Linked DNA regions of Homo sapiens: region 2 is linked to region 1. Evidence: promoter capture Hi-C in 16 types of primary human blood cells and fetal thymus (Javierre and others, 2016). All regions are on one chromosome and are shown on one strand. Each heading gives the region's core, a stretch centred on a gene start or on the middle of the fragment in contact. The rest is flanking DNA. Distances are from core to core; before and after follow the strand shown. Region 1 holds the start of ST3GAL6-AS1 (ST3GAL6 antisense RNA 1). Region 2 holds the start of GPR15 (G protein-coupled receptor 15).

Evidence for each region. The method cuts DNA at HindIII sites, captures the fragments that hold promoters and counts their contacts. A CHiCAGO score of 5 or more calls a contact.
Region 2: a fragment that was not itself captured here is called in contact with the fragment with the promoter of ST3GAL6-AS1 in region 1 in 1 of 17 cell types (neutrophils); the score reaches 5.6 in neutrophils.

Annotation. Positions count from the first base shown.
Region 1 is chr3:98,731,401-98,738,420 of GRCh38, forward strand. ST3GAL6-AS1 (ST3GAL6 antisense RNA 1) reads right to left here and starts at 1,251. Exons shown (of 5, transcript NR_046683.1): 1 at 1,026-1,251. It also overlaps a transcript of ST3GAL6 not described here. RefSeq lists enhancers at 717-1,465, 1,466-2,213. The HindIII fragment of the contact is 17,493 bases long and covers 1-7,020 here.
Region 2 is chr3:98,529,770-98,536,789 of GRCh38, forward strand. It overlaps GPR15 (G protein-coupled receptor 15), which reads left to right and starts at 2,209. Exons shown (of 1, transcript NM_005290.4): 1 at 2,209-4,912. The coding sequence starts at 2,265. The coding sequence ends at 3,347. RefSeq lists a silencer at 2,070-2,229. The HindIII fragment of the contact is 1,688 bases long and covers 2,184-3,871 here.

The DNA of each region.
Region 1 (7,020 bases), core at 1-2,500:
ACCTCGTGATCCGCCCGCCTCGGCCTTCGAAAGTGCTGGGATTACAGGTGTGAGCCACGGCGCCCGGCCATTTTTTTTTTAAAGTAAGGTTGGGAAAACAACAAATGATACCTCCTAGGGCTGTTATTACAATTAAGACAAATACCAGAGCACTTTGGCAGGTGGAGGCGAGCGGATCATTTGAGGTCAGGAGTTCGAAACCAGCCTGGCCAACATAATGAAACCTCATCTCTACTAAAAATACAAAAATTAGCTGGGAGTGGTAATCCCAGCCTGTAATCCCAGCTACTCGGGAGGCTGAGGCAGGAGAGTCGCTTGAGCCTGGGAGGCAGAGGTTGCAGTGAGCCAAGATCATGCCCCTGTACCCCAGCCTGGGTGACAAAGCAAGATTCTGTCTCAAAAAAAAAAAAAAAAAAAAGGACAAATACCAGAAAGCCCATCACAGATGAAGGACTTTGTTCCAGTTCGTGACACATTGCCAACTTTGAATTACATCCAAGTCCGTGGGTCTTCTCTCTGGGGTCAATTGATGGCACGTGATTACACTGCTCAGGGCCCAAAGGTTGGAGCTATGACTTGAATGTTTCTAGACAAGGAATTATTTGACAAACACACTTTAAAAAGTATTCAGAGCCATCCAAGTAAGAGGACATTAATAACGTAGGGTTTTGCCTATGGAGAGAAAAGAAAACGCAAACAGCACGTTCCACCTTCGTTCTCCCTAAAGTAATTTATCTCCTTCAAAAGATAAAAAGTACGAACACATTTGCCCTTGAAGGGCAGAGCCCCGGAATTCAGGAGCTCTCTGAACACTCCTCCCCTTCTGATAGGGACCAAACCTTCTGCTGAGCCTTGTGTCACAGTCAGTCCGCGGCGCCACAAGCCTCAGTGTTTACTTCTGCCGCCTGCCAGCCGGGCGGGGAAGGGGAGTACCCGGCCACCCCTCACTTTAGCTCCTGCAGCTTTCCAAACAAACCAGGGCGGGATGGGAGTGTCTTCTTGGCTGTGGAAATCGATCCTCCTACCTTGTCCTGAAGCCACCCGCCGCCTTTCCTCGTCCCTCCCTTCGCGGTGATTTTCCGGTCCCGGCGCCCGGCGAGGGCGCGCGGCTGGTGTCCGCCCCGCCCGAAAGGTAGGGGTTCGGCTGTGCTCCCGCCTGGTCCCCAACGCCTCACCCTCCGGGAGACCCGCAGCCTCCCACCACTTTGCACCTTCCTCCTCGAATTTGGGGGCGGCCACCGTGCAACTGGCGCCAGCCGCGGAGCAGGAGGAGCTTCCCGCGACTCCGGAGGCGCTCGGCGCAGTCGCCCGGGATTGGGGCTGGCGGGAGCCTGAGACTCCGGGCAGGGCTGCTCCCTCCTCTGCTCCCCCGCCAGATCCGCGGGGAAGGAATCGTGCCCGCGCCGCCCCTGGCCCGCGCCACCTTCCTTTGGTTTCTGCCGGCCTCGGGCTTCTGCGGCCCGATGTGGCAGGCGCCGCGAGAGAGGCAGCAGCCGGCTGGAGCAGCGGCCCCTCAGGTCTCGGAGCCCGGTGCGCCTCTGCGGTCGTCGCTCCTGGGCCTCGGCGGGTCACTCTTGCCGGCCGGCTTCGCTGCGGGTTTGCACTGCCCGGGTGAGGGAAATTGGGGGTGCGGGAAGACCGGTCTGGGCCGGGGTCCGGGCGGCCTGGGGTCTGTGCTGCCCCGACCCTCCGGCTTTGCAGCCTCTGAGGCTCAGGGTTGGGGGTGGGGACACGGAGCGCTGTTTGCCCCTCCACATATCCTGCCAGCACCAAGGAGGTGGCGTGCGGAGGCGTAAAGGGACCATGGGCGCTGGGACCCGCGAGCCAGCCGGCGTGCGCCGCAGCCACCGCCGAGAGGGCACCCGGGGATCCTGGAGCCCCAGTGAAGGGCGGGAGGGACGCGCAGCCTCGCGGGTAAGCCCAGGAGCCGTGGGGGCCGAGAGAATCTGCTCTGGGACCCTCTTTTGTCGAATCGCCGGCGAGGTTGTGCAATTGGGAAGCCAAGAGGAGTGTCCAGCTCCTCGTTCACTATTGTTTTCTTGTAAAAGGGTCTGTACGCGAGGAGGGTTGAGGGGTCTGGAAGGTTCTGGTCTCTTACCGTATAAAGTTTTTCGAGAAACCCTTTTTCCCTCCACAATGGAACTAGACCTAACAAAACAAGCTCCGAGGCAGTTTAGGAGAAAGGAGGACGGTGAGTAAATTGCAGTGTTTGGGCTGCTGTTAATTTTCAAGATAAGGGAGAAGCAACTTGTCATTTTGAGGCCGCCGGCTCCGGAGATCCCGGCAATCTCAAGCCTCTTTCTTGTGTGCTGTTATTTTGGCTTAAAAGAAAACCTATAAAAAGCGACGCCCAGAAACCAAAAACAAACCCAAAGCACCTTCTTTTAGGATTTTTCAGTAGCGAGGGTTGGCGGGGACAGTGGGGAGGAGCAGGAGGGGGAGAAGAGGTTGCTGTTGAAAGGTAATGTTTAAAAACAGTGTGTGGGGGTAGGGATGAAAATAACGTGGTGACTGCTAGTGTATCAGAAATCACACCGAGTCTAAAGTCGTAAGTCCCATTTGCCTTACGAGGACCAGCTGGGTGCTGTGAGTAGGTGGATAGTTAAGGAAACTGTAGATCTGCTGAAAGCTCCTCGTGGTCTGTGGTCTCGTGTCCACGCTGACCTTTGAACCTCGTAACTCTTCGGGTCTCCAGCGGCCACCTCTTTTAGGCTAGCCCGAATGTTTGACTTTCCGGTCCTCAATCTTCCTCACCTAGCTGCAGACCATAAAACTGTCTTTTTATTTACAGGGAGATGTTAAATATTTGGGAACATCTGCTCAGGCTGCCAGGTTATTTTCCGTTTGAAAGCATGCCGATTTGACATTTGCAAGTTGGTTTATGTTGCTTCCTTTTTGTTTCACTAAGAACGCTTTTCATACCAAGATCTGCGAAAAACGATGCCCTTAGACTGTTATTTAGTTTATTGTCTCTGAGTAAGGCCAAATTCCACAGAGGGTCTTTGGATAATGGCAACTTTGCTTATAAGAAGATAATTTTTCTAGAAAGTGTTGCATTGGTCTGGTTTCCTAAGCTGTTCTTGTGGTCATGTAGACTGGGAGGGGAGATCTTCATTCCTTGTGATGTCGCTTTCCTTGAATTGTATTTTTACTATAGTTCCACAATGTCTCAGTCCCAGATTGCACCATATGTTGTTTACATGGTGCAGTAAAATGGGACTGCAATTTTGACTACATTTCAGTAGATTTGTTGGAGATAGTTTGTTCTTATGCCCTATATCAATAATAATAATAAAAAACCTTTGAGGCTCAAGAATAGACAGTATTGACAGAATAATACCATTAAGAGACATACCATTTAAAAACATTAGTCTGTCTCCTGTGAAATTGTAAATCGTAGGTGTTCTCATTCAGTGGCAGACGACTGGATTTCACAGCAGTTTTCTTCTGTTGGAGACATTTCTGTGTTCCACATCATGTGGAACCTTATGGGAGAAGACGTGAGTAATGCCATGTTTCCCGCATTTCCCTGATAAGCATCATCTGCTAACCATGCAGACTGCCAGATGGCTTCCATGGAAATTGTGCTTCCATCCAGGAGTGGTGACCAGAGATCTGTTTAGTATGCATTTTAGGTGATGCTTATTGAGAAGGTGAAGGAAGCATGGAACTCCTATTTGGCACCCACTCTGATTTTTGGTGTGTTCTCATATGCTATTTTATTTAATCTTCCTGACAAAACTCCTGCAAGAAAGGAATTTTTAGCCCCATTTTATAGCTTAAAAAACCAAGATTGCCTTAGGTTGAGTTGCAGTGGCTCACATAAAGGTTTGACTCTACCTCTGCCTACACCATCCCAGGAATCCTCTGCAGTATACATTCTGCACAAATTCTTCCATTTCCTGTGCATATCTTTCTCCTTTGCCTGGCATATCCTCCATTTATATATACCTTGGTCTGAATATGCCTTTCTAGTTATCCCCAGGCTGGGCTTTTTGAATAGGTGGTCTGCGTACTTTGCCTTCCTTGTGACAGCTTTAGACTTTCACCAGCCAGGAACCTTCTATCTTCTGCACATCTCTGATGTGTCACTTAGGTGATCAGGGTCTGGCGAAATCTAGGAGTTTATGCTGTCTTCAATGGGCATATTCCAAAAGTTCTTTCCTTTCTGAATACATTTTCACTGAAGCTCCTACTCAAGCTATATGTTACCTGGAAGAGGTTTTCCCAGGGTTACATCCCCACCCTCACAGTTGAAATGAAACATTCTCTCCTGTCTGTCCCAACTGTGATGGATAATAGCACACATCACACATCACAGTTTCCAATTTAACCCTTAGGGGTTAAAATGGATTTTGATTTGGAGTGAGCTTGATGCATGGAATAGAATGTATACATTGGATATTATAGTGTTTTGGTAGGAAATTTTATTTACAATTCCATATCAGGATGTCAGAAACACAATTCCCTCACCATTGTGGGATAGCTGGAGTTCTTTCCCCTGATGGTGACACCTCAGCACTGAATCAGCTGCAGTGTCTCAGACTTGGTCAGGAACTTGACTGTCGTATAATCAGGCTAAGAAGTGCTGAGATTCTGGCAGTGAGGTTATGAAAGTAAAAGATAACAGGATCAGTAAGACCTGGTTTTCTTCCTTGTGCCCATGTTTGTTTTTCTTGGAGAGCTTTTGGTCATCTAGGAGGATTGTCCAGTTTACCTTTTTACTGCCACAAACTTTTGTATCTGACCAGGGGCCTTCCTCTTCCTGCACCATTGAGATAGAGGGAAAGGAAAGCACCTAGCCCTTAGGAGATTTTCTTAAAAACATTGGAAAGCTGAGTGAAAAGTTATCTTCTCCCCCATTCTCTCTTTCCCCTTCTTATATGCTTAGCCTAAGACAAAGTATACAGATAGCATCATTGCATACTTTGCAATGTATTTAGTGCTAGGCTTTGAAAGATGGTTTAAACATTGATTTACTTTTTATTTGGTTGGGAATGGAAAGATCTTTAGGACATGATGAGAACAAGGCCCCCAGAAGAGGAGACGGCAAGGAAGCTGGAGATTCCTCCAGAGGTGGGAGGGTTATTCTCACCTTCCACAGGTTGTGGAAGCAGGCCTGGAGTTGTTATGGCTGTGGGTCAGAGTCACTATGCTGAAAGATGGGGGCAACAAGGGAGCAGAAAGTGTTTTTTTCAGTGGACTTTGGGTGATATTCCATGTGGTCATCCATGAGATGGGACTTCCCTAATGGTCAACCAACATTCACTGAATGTCCACCATGTAACAAGAGATGTTCTTGTGGGTGGGGTTGGGAGCGTGCCGTGTTGGACACAGCAAAGCCCCTGCTCTTACAGAGCTTATGTTTTATGGGGGGCAGAGTCAAAAAATGAGTTACAAATACATGAGGCATGAGTGAATTTGGGTCGTTTGAGAAACAGAAGGTGCAGTGTGAGAAGAGAGTGGTTAAGACAATATGTAGTTAAAGAAGAGTGCAAAAGACGGAGTGGGAGGAGATGTAGTCAGTAAGATAGGAAGGCAGATTTTGTGGAGTTTGAATCGTATTCTAGTTAGAATTGGCATGCCTGGAGATTTTTGATGAGAGCCTAATTCAGTCTTCACCCAGTCATGATAGGCTTTCCTGTCTCTTCTTTTTCTTTCTTTTTGAGGTGGAGTCTTGCTCTGTCACCCAGGCTGGAGTGCAGTGGCTCGATCTCCGCTCACTAAAACCTCTGCCTCCTGAATTTAAGTGATTCTCCTGTCTCAGCCTCCCAAGTAGCTGGGATTACAGGCATGCACCACCACACCTGGCTATTTTCTGTATTTTTTTTGTAGAGATGGGGTTTCGCCATGTTGGCCAAGCTGGTCTTGAACTCCTGAATTCAGGTGATCCGCCCACTTCGGCCTCCTAAAGTGTTGGGATTACAGGCGTGAGCCACCACACGCGGCCCCTTCCTGTCTCTCTGTCTCTCTTTCTCTCTCTCACACACATAAACACACAAATTTCTACCCTTAGTTGCCTTTTTTTCTTTCTACTAATTTACCATAACTGATTTCCCCTCTCTTTTCCCTAGGGCAGAGCACAGGAATATCACAAAGACAGGCAGAGCTCAGAGACGCCTATACAGTATTCCTTTTATCCTCTTGTCCTTTGATTTCAAGATGTCTCATCATCACCACTCTATTAGTATCTAGGGAGACTTGGCACAATTTTTAGATAGAAAATTATTTTTGAGATTCTTTGGCCCATTGTTAACTCACATACTTAACTAACATACAAAACAACTAAATTATGGCTTTTCTGATTAACACAGTGGCATAAAACCTGAAACCTCAGGAGACCTATCTCACATTCAATGATATCCAAAGGCTGAAAGTAAAGGGATGGAGAAAAGTCTGGCAAGCAAATGGAAAACAGAAAAAAGCAGGGGTTGCTATTCTAATTTTAGACAAAACAGACTTTAAACCAACAAAAACCACAAAAGACAAAGATAGTGATATGGTTTGGATCTGTGCCCCCACCCAAATCTCATATTCAATTGTAATCCTCAGTGTTGGAGGTGGGGCCTGATGGGAGGTGATTGGATATGGGGGGCAGTTTCTAATCGTTTAACACCATCCCCCTGGGTGCTGTTCTTCTGATACTGAGTGAGTTCTTACAAGATCTGGTTGTTTAGCCTCCCCCCGCCCTCCCCCCACCCCCGCCTTTCCTCCTACTCCAATTATGTAAGATGTGCCTGCTTCCCCTTCACCTTTTGCCAGGAGACTTCTGTGAGTTTCCTGAGGCCTCCCAGTCATGCTTTCCGTACAGCCTGAAGAACCGTGAGCCAATTAAACCTCTTTGCTTTTTATATTACCTAGTCTCAGGTATTTCTTTCTTTCTTTTTTTTTTGGATAGGGTCTCACTCTGTTGAACAAGCTGAAATGCAGTGGCACAATCATTCTTCACTGCAGCCTCAGCCTCATGGGCACAAGCAATCTTACCATCTCAGCCTCCTAGGTAGCTGGGACTGCAGATAC
Region 2 (7,020 bases), core at 1,778-4,277, 200 kb before region 1:
TTTTTGAGTAAATATTGTCCTACTTCAATTTTTGACAAAATGAATTATTCTATTAAATAATTAAAGCTTACCCAGTGGGAAAGATTTCTGTCCCAGAAATGTCAAAGCGGTTAATTAGTTTCTCTGATCTGTAGTCTATATTTAGTAAAGAATATGCCCTCCATGAAATTAAATGAATTGCGCACAGCAGCCAGGGACACAGGAGAAGGCAGGCTCAGGCCCACAAATCAACTCCAGAGTGACTTCTGGGACTGTCCCAGGTCAGAGGAGCCTTTATCCTTCCCTGACCTCAGCTTACTTGCCTAAGACTCAGGTGACACTAGACCATATCAGGAGGAAGAGGGAAGGAGGAAGTACAACCGGCAGGATGATTCTTTTTAATATACTAATTACTGAAGAAATAACAATTCAGTAGGGCCAGGCTTGGTGGCCCATGCCTGTAATCCCAGCATTCTGGGAAGCCAAGGCGGATAGATTGCTCGAGCTCAGGGGTTCCTGACCAGCCTGGGCAACATGGCGAAAACCCGTCTCTACAAAGAATACAAAAATTAGTCGGGCATGGTGGTGCATGCCTGTAGTCTTAGCTAGTCAGGAGGCTGGGGTGGGAGGATTGCATGGGCCTGGCAGTGAGCTGTGTTCAAGACACTGCACTCCAGCCTGGGTGACAAAGTGAGACCCTAGTGAGACCCTGTCTCAAAAATTAAACAAACAAACAAATGAAAAAACAACTTAAGAAAGGACTTCAAATGTTTAATGACTATATTTTCATCTACAAACATACATTTTTCTATGAATAGCAATATCAACCTGAAACTAGAATTCTGAAGATTAAATCAGATAGGAGAGAAGAATAGTGCAAGAGAGCCTTGAGTCACTTTGACCAGTAAAGAGCTGAAATAAATGGAGTCCGTTTCAAAATGTGTTATATTTTACTATGGTCATCATAATATAAAAGGAAACATATGAGAGAAAAATGTGATAGAATTCTTTCTGTTTTAGCCTGTTCCCCAAGTGTTTTAAATGTACTAAAAAATCTTCCCTTTTATAGTGTCCATGCTGGCACCTCCATCATGATGTCACTTATAGGTATATCTGTTGCCAGATCAGCAATCAGCAATTCCAAAAGTGATGTTCACCCATGTGTGGAGGTACCAGAAGGCCATGGCTCAGAAGCTAAAAAAATCAGTGCTACACAGGTGTGGTATAATGAAGAGAAGATCAGAGGGGATCCAGAGTCTGATGAAGCGTATTTGAGGGTTAATAGGGAGAAAATCTCCTAATCAATGATGTTAACTCTTAACAAAAGAGAACTTCACTGGTTGAATTACAATAGCAGATAGGAGGGTAAAAATAGCAACTTGAGATTGTTAAACCTGTGTTTGTAAGTTACATAAATAACAACAATACCTGAAGTTAGACCCCAATGAATTCATTTCTACTAGATATGCTGGATAACAAAAAGAATTTTCTGAATCAAACCTAATAAACTACAATTTCCAAAGCACCAACTATATGCAAGATGCTATGCAAGTTGTAGTGGAAAACTTAAAATAATAAGAGCAGAAAACGTGGTCCCAGTCTTTGGGGGGGGATTTTTAAAAACTTATGAAACAGGATTGACTACATGTCAAATGAAAGAGCCACATAGATGGGGAGACTCTCATGCCCTAAATGGAATCATGTTGTTTGACCTAGTTGTATACTGGTATGATTTGGGAAACTTTTCATTCACTCTTTACACAATGAAAGACTAGTTTTCTTCCTAGTTCGCCAACAAAGTAAATAAAAAGAATACATTATCATTGCCTTACAATTCTAAAAGCAGAACAATATCTTCTATGTGAAACAGAAGGCTAGATCAAAATAAATTTCAGTGTCAAAAGCAAAGGAGGTCTTTAAAGGAAGTGAAAAAATCAAGTTAATTCACTTCTTAATTACTGGCCTTAAAGAAATAAATTGAATATCTTGAAAAAATAACTCAAAAAGCACCTCAGTTTCACGAGCAAATGCAAATTAAAAAAACCACAACCACAACCAACCAACACCAATCAGAGTGGTGCTCCTTGTGTGCCCTTTCTGAGGATTGGTAGAAACTGCATTTTTTAATCTCGGCTTTCATGTTTGTCCAAGATCTTTAAAGGGAGGGGAAAAAAGAGAGAGAGAGGCAGGCACTGTATAAAAGAAGCTTCCTTGAGGTTTCTAAAATTTATACAAAAACATCATATGTAAGTAAACTCACCAGATTTGGCATCTGCTCTTTGGTGATGGACCCAGAAGAAACTTCAGTTTATTTGGATTATTACTATGCTACGAGCCCAAACTCTGACATCAGGGAGACCCACTCCCATGTTCCTTACACCTCTGTCTTCCTTCCAGTCTTTTACACAGCTGTGTTCCTGACTGGAGTGCTGGGGAACCTTGTTCTCATGGGAGCGTTGCATTTCAAACCCGGCAGCCGAAGACTGATCGACATCTTTATCATCAATCTGGCTGCCTCTGACTTCATTTTTCTTGTCACATTGCCTCTCTGGGTGGATAAAGAAGCATCTCTAGGACTGTGGAGGACGGGCTCCTTCCTGTGCAAAGGGAGCTCCTACATGATCTCCGTCAATATGCACTGCAGTGTCCTCCTGCTCACTTGCATGAGTGTTGACCGCTACCTGGCCATTGTGTGGCCAGTCGTATCCAGGAAATTCAGAAGGACAGACTGTGCATATGTAGTCTGTGCCAGCATCTGGTTTATCTCCTGCCTGCTGGGGTTGCCTACTCTTCTGTCCAGGGAGCTCACGCTGATTGATGATAAGCCATACTGTGCAGAGAAAAAGGCAACTCCAATTAAACTCATATGGTCCCTGGTGGCCTTAATTTTCACCTTTTTTGTCCCTTTGTTGAGCATTGTGACCTGCTACTGTTGCATTGCAAGGAAGCTGTGTGCCCATTACCAGCAATCAGGAAAGCACAACAAAAAGCTGAAGAAATCTATAAAGATCATCTTTATTGTCGTGGCAGCCTTTCTTGTCTCCTGGCTGCCCTTCAATACTTTCAAGTTCCTGGCCATTGTCTCTGGGTTGCGGCAAGAACACTATTTACCCTCAGCTATTCTTCAGCTTGGTATGGAGGTGAGTGGACCCTTGGCATTTGCCAACAGCTGTGTCAACCCTTTCATTTACTATATCTTCGACAGCTACATCCGCCGGGCCATTGTCCACTGCTTGTGCCCTTGCCTGAAAAACTATGACTTTGGGAGTAGCACTGAGACATCAGATAGTCACCTCACTAAGGCTCTCTCCACCTTCATTCATGCAGAAGATTTTGCCAGGAGGAGGAAGAGGTCTGTGTCACTCTAAAGGGAACTGTGACATTTCAAGCTCTGTTGGTGGGTTTAGGAGTTAATTTTTGTCAGCAACAAAGAAGGAAGTGTTAATGATAGGATTCACATTGCTTCATAGATGCAAGGAAGAGTTCATTTTTAAAGAGAGGACTGAAAAATCCCTGTGTTGTGGATATAATTAGGCCATGTGCTGTTTTCTCAGCTAAGCAGCCTTCTTCGACCCTTGCCAATCAAGTCCACCAGACAAAATCCAATTCCCATCTGTCCTTGAACTCCTGGATAAAGGCTCCTGCTTGAACCAGTCCCTTTCTTCATGATTGTTAATGCACATTTGGGCCTTTCCTCTCTCAAAAACCATGGTACCTTCATCCCCACCACCCTTCATACTGGGCTCTAAATTGGACTACATTTAAATGATTCTGCCTACTTTCATCTGATGAGAAATGCAGTAACAATGCAGGTAACAAAAATATAATATACCTGCACTGTGCAATTAATTGTTTCTGAGTTACTAAGCTAGATTCTGACCTCAATCTTTAAAGCTTTGTATCGTGATTCTTCATCATCTTCCAACATTGTGCTTCATCCTATGCCTATTCACAATGGCTTTGGACTGGCAAAAAAAAACTCATGGGGATTTTGTATTGTGTTTATGATTTGGGACTTACTTTATCATATGGTCTTCTAGTATTTTAATACATAAGCATATGGCAGGATTCAACATCTATTTGCTTTATAAGATATTGATAAAAATGTATCTCATTCATAATGGTGTAGCAACTACTTTTTAATGGGGTTTTACTATGCTCTTTTGTTTCCATTGGCTTTATAAATTAGGATTTGACTTTGCTTTAATTACATGTTTTTAATTACCCAGTTATCTAGTTATCAAATGAAAATGTTATTACTAATATAATTGGAACTCATAAAATGCTTAGCTGTACCCCGATGCAGATTATCATTTTGTATTTTAATTAAAATGTTAGTGCTACACATTCCCTATAGTATCATTTGCTTGGTGCCTATAATTTCAAGATAAGATCCAGTAATATAGGGAGACAGGCTGCTCTGTATTCAGCCAAAGTAGAAAATCTCTAACAAAGATCTCACTAGTATTTTATATATATTTTTTCCATACCCAGAAACCTTCTTGAATTCCTTTACCCAATAAATATTTATTGAGTCAATTTGTACCTATATTCCTTTTGAAGACTTTGATGTGAAAAACATGTAATTAGTGGCAACCACAAAAGACTCTGCAGCAGCAAGCATGCTATTGTAAACATCTTTTGATTCAAGGGAAAGCGGGTTATGTTTTTACCTCCACTGTTGACTTGAATGAATTACCATTTTACTTCTAAATATTAGATTTGAAAATCAGAAAAAACTTAGAATCCTTTCAAAGACTAGCCAATTTAATTTCATCTCATGTATCTTTCACATGAAGAGAAACCTCAAATATCGGACATCTCCTTGTAGCCTAATTAGAAGCTGAAAATACAGTTTTTGGTTTTATAAATTGGCTAACTTGTTAATTTTTCTTAAACTGTTATTAAATAAAAATATAATTTCCTTACATAAGTATTCTTCTGGACTGTATTAATTTCTAACAACATATTAATATTAATACTAATTCTAATAAACTTTTAGTAAATTATTATGGTTATAGAAGAAAAGACCATGTAAATAATAACAAATAAATATTCTTGGAAAACTTCAAAACTAAATTCAATGCAATTGAATAGATCTCCAAAAGTTAAACAAAAACAAAATACAGAAGGTAGAAGACACACATTTCTTTAAAACAAATCGGCAAAAGCACTGTTACTAATCATGAAACTTACTGCCTTTGAAAAATACTGCCTTTAAAAAATAGCTGAATCAATCAGCTAAGTTATTGGTTGGGAAAGCAGAAAACCTGTGCTATTAATTTTAGCTTCACCCTTAATGTTGTGATACTAGTAAGGTCATTTTAACCTTTCATACTTAAATGTAGTTGGTAATATCTATGTCTATAGAATTATCAAGGATACTGTAAAAATAATAAATATAAATAAAGTTTTAAATGTGGAGTAAAAAGTTACTTTATAAAGTGATTTGATTTCTATTATTAATTATTGACTACTCCTTACAAATTTTCAAACTAACATCAAATAATACTTAATCATTCTCATTTTTAAAATATTGAGATTTTATTTCTACTTCTTCACTTTAATTTTGCTGAGAATATTTAAAATAACACCAAATAAAAATATGTATTATTGGTTTTTTAGTACTTTAAATAGATATAATAATTGTAGGCTTTAATAAAATCTTAGTTTATTTTACATTCATAATGTACCAGTTGTGAAAGAAAAAAATAGATATAATTTTATAGGTAGTACAACTCTAATAGAAAAAAGTTCAAAGCTTGATTAAGTTCACATGTTATTTTGTCATATATGGATTCTGCTGGTATGAAATGTAATTTACATTATAATAGCATTAAAAAGTTTATTACAAATTAGTTGTCTGACATTTTGCATATTTTTAAAATCATAGGCTGGGTGCAGTGGCTCACGCCTGTAATCCTAGCACTTTGGGAGGCCGAGGCAGGTGGATCACAAGGTCAGGAGTTCAAGACCAGCCTGACCAACATAGTGAAACCCCGTCTCTACTAAAAATACAAAAAATTAGCAGGGCATGGTGGCAGGCACCTATAATCCCAGCTACTCAGGAGGCTGAGGCAAGAGAATCGCTTGAACCCAGGAAATGGAGGTTGCAGTGAGCCAAGATTGCACCATTGCACTCCAGCCCAGGTGACAGTGCTAGACTCTGTCTCAAAAATAATAATAATAATAATAATAAAATTTCTTCATTTTTAATTTGAACAATTTCTATTTCTATACTTACGTAGATATTCTACATATACATATACATTCAGATATACATAGAATCACAGACTCATATTTATACCTTTTCATTATTTTTATTACCTGAATTAAACTAGCCTAAAGGCTAGTTTGTGATAATTTAATGTCATTAAAGAACAAATCAATACATTGCCAAGAATTTCCAGAAAATTACTCTTTCATCCTAACACAATCATGCCTTGCCAGTTATATCCAAAGTTAGGAAAACAAAATAAAATTTTTACAATTCAGAGTAATACACAAGGAAATCACTACAGATTAACATTATTTGTTGTCATTTGCATAAGTAGTCCAAAGTTACTCGGAGGATGTAAATGACAAATATAAAAGGATAGTGACCTCTCAAGCATTTCTCAAATAGCTTTTTGAAACTTACCCCAGAAAAGCTCTCCATTAAATCCTAGGTAATGTGTTGTCTGATACTTTATAATTAATTTTAAAAGAAATGTAATCAAGACACGCATAGTCGCAAACATAGTCCCAAACACATTTACTCCATTTGGGTTGTATTGAAAGGTTGAAACTAACCTGATATTCCTGGGAGTCCCTTAACCTGTCCACTCTTAACAAGTCAAAATCACTTCTGTAGTGAAAAGTTTTAACAGCAGTCTTAAAGGGAAGCTATGTGCGTGACTGAGAACCGACCATTACTAGGGGTCACAAGTTAATTTTTAAATAGATGCATAAATGCACAGTATGGTGGTAAGGTGAGTGGAAAAAAATCTTCCTCTGTGATTCATCTTGACTCCTCAAATCACTCTCTATTCTACCTAGCGA